Regions from separate parts of the Homo sapiens genome. Here region 1 is linked to region 2. Evidence: promoter capture Hi-C in human tissues and cell types (Jung and others, 2019). All regions are on one chromosome and are shown on one strand. Each heading gives the region's core, a stretch centred on a gene start or on the middle of the fragment in contact. The rest is flanking DNA. Distances are from core to core; before and after follow the strand shown.

Region 1 (4,083 bases), core at 677-3,176, 500 kb before region 2:
ATAAATTAGTACAGCCATTGTGGCAAACAGTATGGAGATTTCTCAAAATATTAAAAATAGGATGACCATATGATCCAGCAGTCTTACTACTGGATAAATGGAATAAAATCAGCATCGAAGAGGTGTCTGTATTCCTGTGTTCGTTGCAACACTATTCACAATAGCTGAGATGTGGATCAACCTAAGTGTCCATCAGTGGATGAATGGATAAAGTATGGCATACATACACAATAGAATACTCTTCAGCCATAAAAAAGGAAATCCTGTGCAACAACATGGATGAGCCTAGAGGACATTATGTGAAGTGAAATAAGCCAGACACAGAAAGACAACATATGATTTCCCTCATATGTGGCATCTGAAAAAGTAGCTGAATCTTGATGCATGTTTTTATTCCTATAATTCCTTTGTGTTTGTGTCCTTTCTCTTCCCTGCTCTACAGAATAGAGCAGTCCATCAGGTGCCTTCCTCCCACCACTTGAATTTAAGCATCACTGCAGTTGGCCTAGTTGATGGACATGCTTTTTGTCTGTTGTTGAGCAAATTATGCAAATCTGACTTTTTTGTCAAAGTCCATGTTTGTCATTCTAGGAATGTATGATTTTAAGAACTTCTCTTAACCCAGTCCACCAGGTGATATTTTTGCTAAACCTTACATGGATATGTAGAAGATTCATTTTCTTATAAACCTTTTGTCTCTACCATCTAAATCTTTGGTTGACTGTTCCCTCCCCTGGTTTTCTTGTCACTCCAGTGCTGTCTCCCTTCTACCCTGTGAAGAGGTTGAAATATAAGGCGAAGGCAGGGAACTGAATTGTGCATGAAGGCATGCAATCAATAAGGCAGGTGGCTCAGTAATGCCTACCTGATTCCTGCTCCCACTATCCATTTCACAAGCTTAGGCATTTCCTTTACTTGCTGTCATAGTAACCAGGACTCCTGCCAGTCTTCCCGTTTATCTTTTATCTGTGAGTGCATCTGAAGGGGGATGGGGAGTATAGAAATGGAAACCTCTCAGCAAGAGGATCATGGACTTTAAAATGTCCTTAGAATAGCAAGTAGGGTACCTTCATTTTGGCATTGTTTCTAGCTGATGCAGTAGTATTTACCACAAATAGTCACCCACTGGGGTTGTCATTTTTCCATTTCACATTCAGACAAGACTCCAATATTATTGGTGAGAAAGAGTGAAACTTTTATGTTCCTTAAATTAGTGTTGGAGAAGATCATTGCTTAAAATCTTTTACAAACTGCAATTCAGCCAGAGTCATTCATCTTTGGGAGGATGAGAAGCCAGCTAGCTTCCTACTAGAGTGCGGTTCTCACATTTGTTTGCACCTGGGGAGCTTTAAAAAAATCTTAGTGTCCAGGATTTTTGAATCCTTAAGCCAATTGAATTGAAATATCTGAGGGTAAGATGCAGACACCTTTATTTTTAAAGCTCCCAGGTGATTCAAGTGCTGAGAAATACCTTGGTGATTTCTGCCCTTTTCCTTTGACTTACCCAAATCATGAAAGGAATGATTGATTATATGCAAGTGAGCCCCCAAATTTGTCCTTAAATGAATGACATCTGAATGATATTCTTTGATTTGAAACCTCAGAAATTAGTTGATTAAGGAACAAAGGTACATTATTATTGAACTAGAGATTAATGTTAACCAAGGCACATGACTAACTAATATATAGCTGACAACTAGTAAGTTCACACAAGGTTGGATCTCCTATAATTATGTCTTCCCTTCTGCTCAGTGGGTTCATTTTTTAAATTTATTCGCTCATAGCCTTTTGATTCCAATGCTGGTATTGATGGCTTAGCAGGCACTTGGTGCAGGGGCCCCTTGGATGGGTAAGTGTAGTTTATGACTTAAAGGCATTTTGCCTACCTTGCAGCTCAAGTTGCTTTACTCCTCAGTCATCTGCTTTTTACGTTTGCAAATTCAGCCATGCATTATCTCACTGAGAAGATAACAATGCCTCTGCCTTGTTCTTGGGTCCTTCGTTTTGGCCCAGGATTAATGTGTGCTGAACTCAGATCAGTTACTGGACCAGTCATTGGCTTCTTGCTCCTGTTTTCTTTTTAACCTCCATTCTTCTCTGAGTTCTTTTTGTTTTCATCACATTGCCCAAAGAGTACTTCTTAATGTTGGATTTCCCAGGTCTCAAGAGTCTTATTCCTGGCTGCATGGCCATAGAATGGGCAGGCTCCTGTTTCCACATCCCTTGGCTTCATTGACCACTGTGGTGTCAGGGCCAGACTTGGTCTTGTCCTATCACGTCTTTTTGGTGCACTCTGATTCTGGGACCAGTACTTCTGGATTCCAGTTTTTCCTCTCATTCCCCAAGAGACAGAGTAACCAGTTGTAATAATTAATGATGCTGGAAGTACCAGCTTGCAAGACTCTTTCAGTAACCTCTGGAAGCCACCTGTTTATACCTCTCTGATTATTACTATATTGTTAAAAGCCTGGATGGACACGGAGTCAGTGAATGAGTTTTCAGTGTCCAAGTGTAGATCTGGGACTTGAAGACAGAATTTACAAATTATGGTATCTGTGGCAAGATAGCGGTTGGGATAGACTTGGGAGAAGAAATTCTTTAAAGGAAAAATTGAATTTGTTGCAAAAGAAGTTTGTCACTGAAACACGTTTTAATTGCTCATCGTAAATCAGAGTGTAAAAGAAAAAAAAATGGAATACTCCACTTGTTTTGCTACCTAGGGAAGACTAATACCTTGCATAGTCATCCGTTCTTTTTTCCATGTTTGTCTACATAGTCCTTTTTTTTTTTTTGGAAGATACATGGATGTACTCTCCATGCTGATTTTATTTTATTATTAAAATGTTTTTATGCCAGTATGTAAGGATCATACCCCATCCCAACCCCGACAGGGTTTCACTCTGTTACCCAGGATGGAGTGTGGTGCCACAGTCATGGCTCACTGCAGCCTCATCTTCCCTAGCCTCAAGCAATCCTCCTATCTTAGCTTCCTGAGTAGCTGGGTCTACAGGTGTGTCCCACCATGCCCAGCTAATTTTGTGTGTGTGTGTGTGTGTGTGTGTGTGTGTGTGTGTGTATGTGTGTTTTGTAGAGATGGGATTTAACCATGTTGCTCAGGCTGGTCTCGAACTCCTGGGCTCAAGCGATCTGCCTGCTTCAGCCTCTCAATCATCCATGTTTTTTTTTTTTTTTTTAATTTCTATAGGTGTTTTTGGGAACAGGTGGTGTTTGGTTACATTAATAAGTTCTTTAGTGGTGATTTCTGAAATCTTGGTGGATTTTTAAATGGTTGTATCGTACTTATTCAATCAGTGGAAATCGTTTATTGAACCAGTCTCCATTGGGCAATAAGATTTCCATTCATTCACTATCCTAATAACTTTATGATGAGCATTTTTCATAGCTAAGTCTGGTACATGGGTATGGTAGTTTGCTTAAATTCCTAGAATGCTGGGTGTGTCCTGCAGACCCTGGCTACGGATGAAATGAGTACTCAGACACAGGTATGCAGTGTAAGAGCAGCTAGTTGACTGCCTGGCTCTAGTGGCCAGAGCAGCCCCAAGAAGCTGGAGCTGCTTGGTTTTATTCAGTGCCGGCACAATGCTGAAAACATGGAGCAAACACAACCTGTAGGTAATTAACATTTATTGCCCCCCTTTCAGAGAACCTCATGCGAGAGGATGATCAAAGATCAGTTCCTGGTCAGCATAAGTAAACAAGCCTCTTTAAGATAAATTCCCCTACACTCCCTTGTACCTACTCCTTGGCCTCTGCCTCAGGGTTATAGAACAGCTGCCTTCAGCTCTTCTCCCCTGGGGCTCTGCAGAACCTTCCGACCTTTCAGAAGGTTTAGGTCCTTTCCCTGTAGTTTTTCCCACCACTCTGACTGATTCCCCACACTAGAAGTAGCTGTGGAGTTAAAGGTGTACACATTTTAAATTAATATACATTGCCAAATTGTCTTCCAGAAAGTTTACATTTTTACCAATAGTGTAGGTGAGTGTTTGAAGAAACTGAAATCTTAATGTTCTAGGCAAAATAGTGCCATAGGTGGAAGAAAACAAAGGCTTCTACCTATACTAA
Region 2 (4,093 bases), core at 146-2,645:
AGCACACGGCCATTGTAATTCCTTTCAGAAAGTAAGTGAACATATAAATTATAAATAAATGACACTTACATACACCATTCTGTTTCACAGTGGTGTTGTATTGGCAGCAGCCTTCAACTATAGTTCATTGACAGCATTTGTGGACCCACAGCCAAGCGCTGAAAGCACTGCTTTTTTTGACAGCTGCTCTCCTAATGGGGCATCTCTCAAAGACCGGTTTCATTCTGTGACGCCCACGTTGTCCACATTTTATTCTGCACAATAACTGCAGATTTGAAATAAATTCTTCCTCCCCACCACCATTATTGATTACTCATACCTGCCCCTCACCCTCCAAAGTGTCTAAATTGTGTGGATTTTGCGGGGGTGGGGGGAGGCGGGGGAAGGAGTCGACTCCCCATGTACTGGGTGTCCCCGATGGCGGCAAGCCACACCTTCACACAAGGGGGCAAGGTTCTTGACTAAATATCCTAAAGGTCTGAAAGATGGTCCCCTTCCCCCCAACACAATTCCACCAAAACTGGCCAGCCGCTGGCTAATGAGCAACCACGGATCCTCACCCAAACATTGGCTTTTCTTCCAATAGTGCAGATTGGGAATGCAGGGACGTCGTCCTATTTATGAACACTGAGTCACGTCGCCGCTCAATGTCTGTTTCCTCCTCCCTAGGAATGAGGTGACCCCCTCCTCCAGCGAGTAAATGCGGGGCGATGGCGAGAGCGCAGGGGGCGGCGGCGCTGCCCCACCTTGGGGAGCGAATTCACCCCCCTAGTCGCACCAGCCTGGGCGCACACGGGGGCCGGGGCGAGCCTGTGGGACTCTGCAGTGAGCTCCGCGCGCCCCGGGGGTGCTAGGGGACCGGGACCCTCGGGGCGCCGTCCCCACGCCCCAGCCCTGACGGGTCCGCGGCCGAGCAGCCCGGGGGACGTCGCTGCCTCCCCGCCCCGCGCGCGGCCGGGACTGGGCGCTGCGACCCGCGCCGCCTCCTCGGGCAACAAGTGTCCGCCCTCCGCCCCGACGGCCCGCCCGGCGCGGTCCTCACCCGGCACAGGCCGTCCACGAACACGCGCGGGTCCAGGTGACAGGCGATGGTGGCGCTGGGCAGGTCCTGCAGGTCCACCTCCTCCATCTCGCAGTCAATGAAGCTCCAGTCGCCGCCGCCCTCGTCCGCCTCGGCCGCCCCCGAGAGGGGCGCGAAGGGCCGCAGCGTCACCCCGGGCCGCGCTCGCGCCTCGGCCGCCTCCGCCGCCTCCGCCGCGGCCCCGAGCTGGGGACCGGCCACGCCGTCCTCCATCCCCGCGCCCGCGCGACCCTGTGCGCCCCAGCGGGCTGCTCCGGGCTTGCGCGCCGGAGCCTCACGCGCTCCGGTCCGCGCCCGGCCGGCGGCTCCGCCGTTAACCCCCTCGGAATCGCGCGGCGGCAGGCGGCGGGCTGTCAGCAGTCTCCCAGCGACACGGCCTCCCAGCGCCAGCCCCGCCCGTCACCGTTCCGCGCGGGAGGGGCAGAAGCCCGGCGCGGCGACCGCCCCCCCAGCCCCTAGGGCCGGCCACCGGCAGATCCAACGGTGGCCCCTTTAAGGCCGGCGCCGGTTGGGTTATTGTACCCCGCCCTTCCAGGAGACGGGGCCAATAAAGGAACGGAATTCTCTTCACGTGACCTTCCTTCTGCCGCCCGAAGCCCGAAGCCTCAGGGCGGCCATGTTGGTTAGGGGCAAAGTCCTCGTCCCCAGTTCCGCTTTTCTGACAGCTGGTGCCAGCTGAAGGACGCCGGGCAGAGTCCTCGGCTCTTGGGCCCTTGGGGTGATAACTGGGGAGGCAACGTTTTTGTGGTTCCCATGCGGGGACGTTTTGAAGCACAGGGGCCCACTTTTGGGAATTTAAGCGAGACATAGTCTCCCTGTGGCTCTGTGGCCCCTGGCAAGTGGTTAGATGCTTACCGTATATTATCAGATATAGTCGCAATAAAGACTGAACTAGACCATGATAACAATGCCTTACTTTTCTATTTCAGCGTATTAGTCACTATACCATTGTGAAAATTTATGTAATTAGAAGTAATTTTTCTGAATTACCATTATATGCTATGTACAATAGGACATAACGAAAGAATTAAGAGATCACCCCTTTCCTTTGGGGAATAGCGGAAAAATAAGAGGACCTCAAGTGAGCAGACATGTCTCTTCCTGAAAAATAGAATTCTTTTTTGGACAGTATGATACAGTGAGAACTTGGGTCTGAATTTCAGCTTTGCTTTTTAACTACTTGTACAAATAAGCTGAATCTTAGTTTCCTCATCTGAAAAAAATGAAGACATATTACTAAGAATTCAGTCAGTGCTTAATAAATGGTAGCTGTTTATGCACTGGGTTCTTTGGAGGTTGTGAAATTACAGTTATATTTTTTCTTAGAGTAGGCTTACTCTCTAGTTAGGAAGTGTTAGTAATTATAACAAAAAGTATATCCAACAGCTGAGATTTATTCAGAACTTGCCATGTGCACGGTTCTATGATTACTATTATCATAGTCTTAGGACAGTTTGTGTCCTCAGGGAGCTAAACCCAAGAGGAATAATAATACCCATCTAGAGATAACTCATAAAATAGAATATGATATGAGGATGTGAAGAAATTGGAACCGTCATACTGTGAAAGGGAAATCTTGGGCCCCCAAAATCACTAAGGAAAACTAAAGCTGGAAGTTGCTTAGAGCCAACCAGCCTCCCATTCCATTCAAAGTCACCCCTCTGCTCACTGAGACAGATGCATTTCACCGAGACAGATTTGCCTCCTTTATAAAGACTAATCAGAAACCCAAAGAGTGTAACCGTTTGTCTATCACCTATCTGTGACCTGGAAGCTCCCTCCTGCCTCCTGCCTTTGCAGTAGTCTTCCTGCCTTTGCTTCAAGTTGTCCTGCCTCTCCAGACCAAACCAATGTACTGCTTACATACATTCATTGATGTCTCATGTCTCCCTAACATGTATAAAACCAAGCTGTGCCTTGATCACCTTGGGTACATGTCCTCAGGACTTCCTGAGGCCTGTCATGGGCATGCCCTCAACCTTGGCAAAATAAACTTTCTAAATTAATTGAGACCTGTCTCAAATTTTCAGGGTTCACAATATATTGCTGATGGGCATGTAAAATGGCGCAGCCACTTTGGAAAACAATTTGGCAAGTCCTCAAAAAGTTCTATGTAGAGTGACCATATGACCCAGCAATTCCTCTCCTAGGTATATACTTAAAAGAAATGAAAACGGCCGGGAGCCATGGCTCACGCCTGTAATCCCAACAATTTGGAAGGCCAAGGCGGGCAGATCACCTGAGGTTGGGAGTTCCAGACCAGCCTGACCAACATGGAGAAACCCCGTCTCTACTAAAAATACAAAATTAGCTGGGCGTGGTGGCACATGCTTGTAATCCCCGCTACTCGGGAGGCTGAGGCAAGAGAATCTTTTGAACCCCGGAGGCAGAGGTTGCAGTGAGCTGAGATCACGCCACTGCACTCCAGCTTGGACAACAAAAGCAAAAACTCAGTCTAAAAAAAAAAAAAAGAAAGAAAGAAGTGAAAACATATGCCCACACAATAATCTGTACACAAAAGCTCATAGCATCATTATTCAAAATAGCCAAAGAGTGGAAACAGCCCAAATGTTCACCAGTTGAAGAATGGACAAACCAGGAGTATATCCATACAATGGAATATTTTCCAGCCCTAAAAAGGAATGAAATGCTGATAACATGCCACAACATGGAGGAATCTTGAAAACATTATGCTAAGTGGAAGAAGGCAGTCACAAAAGGCCACATGTTATTCCATTTATATGAAATGTTCAGAATAGGCAAATCCACAGAGAGAGAAGGTAGTTTAGTGGGTGCCAGTGTTTCTGAAAGGGGAAAATGGGGAATGACTTGTATAAGGGTAGAAGGGTTCTTTTGGGAGTGAGGAAAATGTTCCAAAATCAATTGTGGTGATGTTTGCACAACTTTTTGAATATACTAAAAATCACTGAATTGTACCTTAAAGGGTGAATTTCATGACATGCAAATTATATTTCAGTAAGGCTAGTATTTTAAAAGACCACAAGACATTGG

The links. Contacts are between HindIII fragments. The study calls those that stand out against the background at their distance.
Region 1: a contact is called between a fragment that was not itself captured here and the fragment with the promoter of RCAN1 in region 2, in 1 of the 25 tissues and cell types used here (dorsolateral prefrontal cortex).

What each region holds. Positions count from the first base shown.
Region 1 is chr21:34,113,142-34,117,224 of GRCh38, forward strand. All of the region lies in intron 1 of MRPS6 (mitochondrial ribosomal protein S6), which reads left to right. Among named protein-coding and RNA genes, the nearest start is that of SLC5A3, 42 kb to the left of the region's middle. The HindIII fragment of the contact is 5,215 bases long and covers 1-4,083 here.
Region 2 is chr21:34,613,718-34,617,810 of GRCh38, forward strand. It overlaps RCAN1 (regulator of calcineurin 1), which reads right to left and starts at 1,396. Exons shown (of 4, transcript NM_004414.7): 1 at 1,043-1,396. The coding sequence starts at 1,294. RefSeq lists silencers at 911-1,010, 1,201-1,630. The HindIII fragment of the contact is 10,572 bases long and covers 1-4,093 here.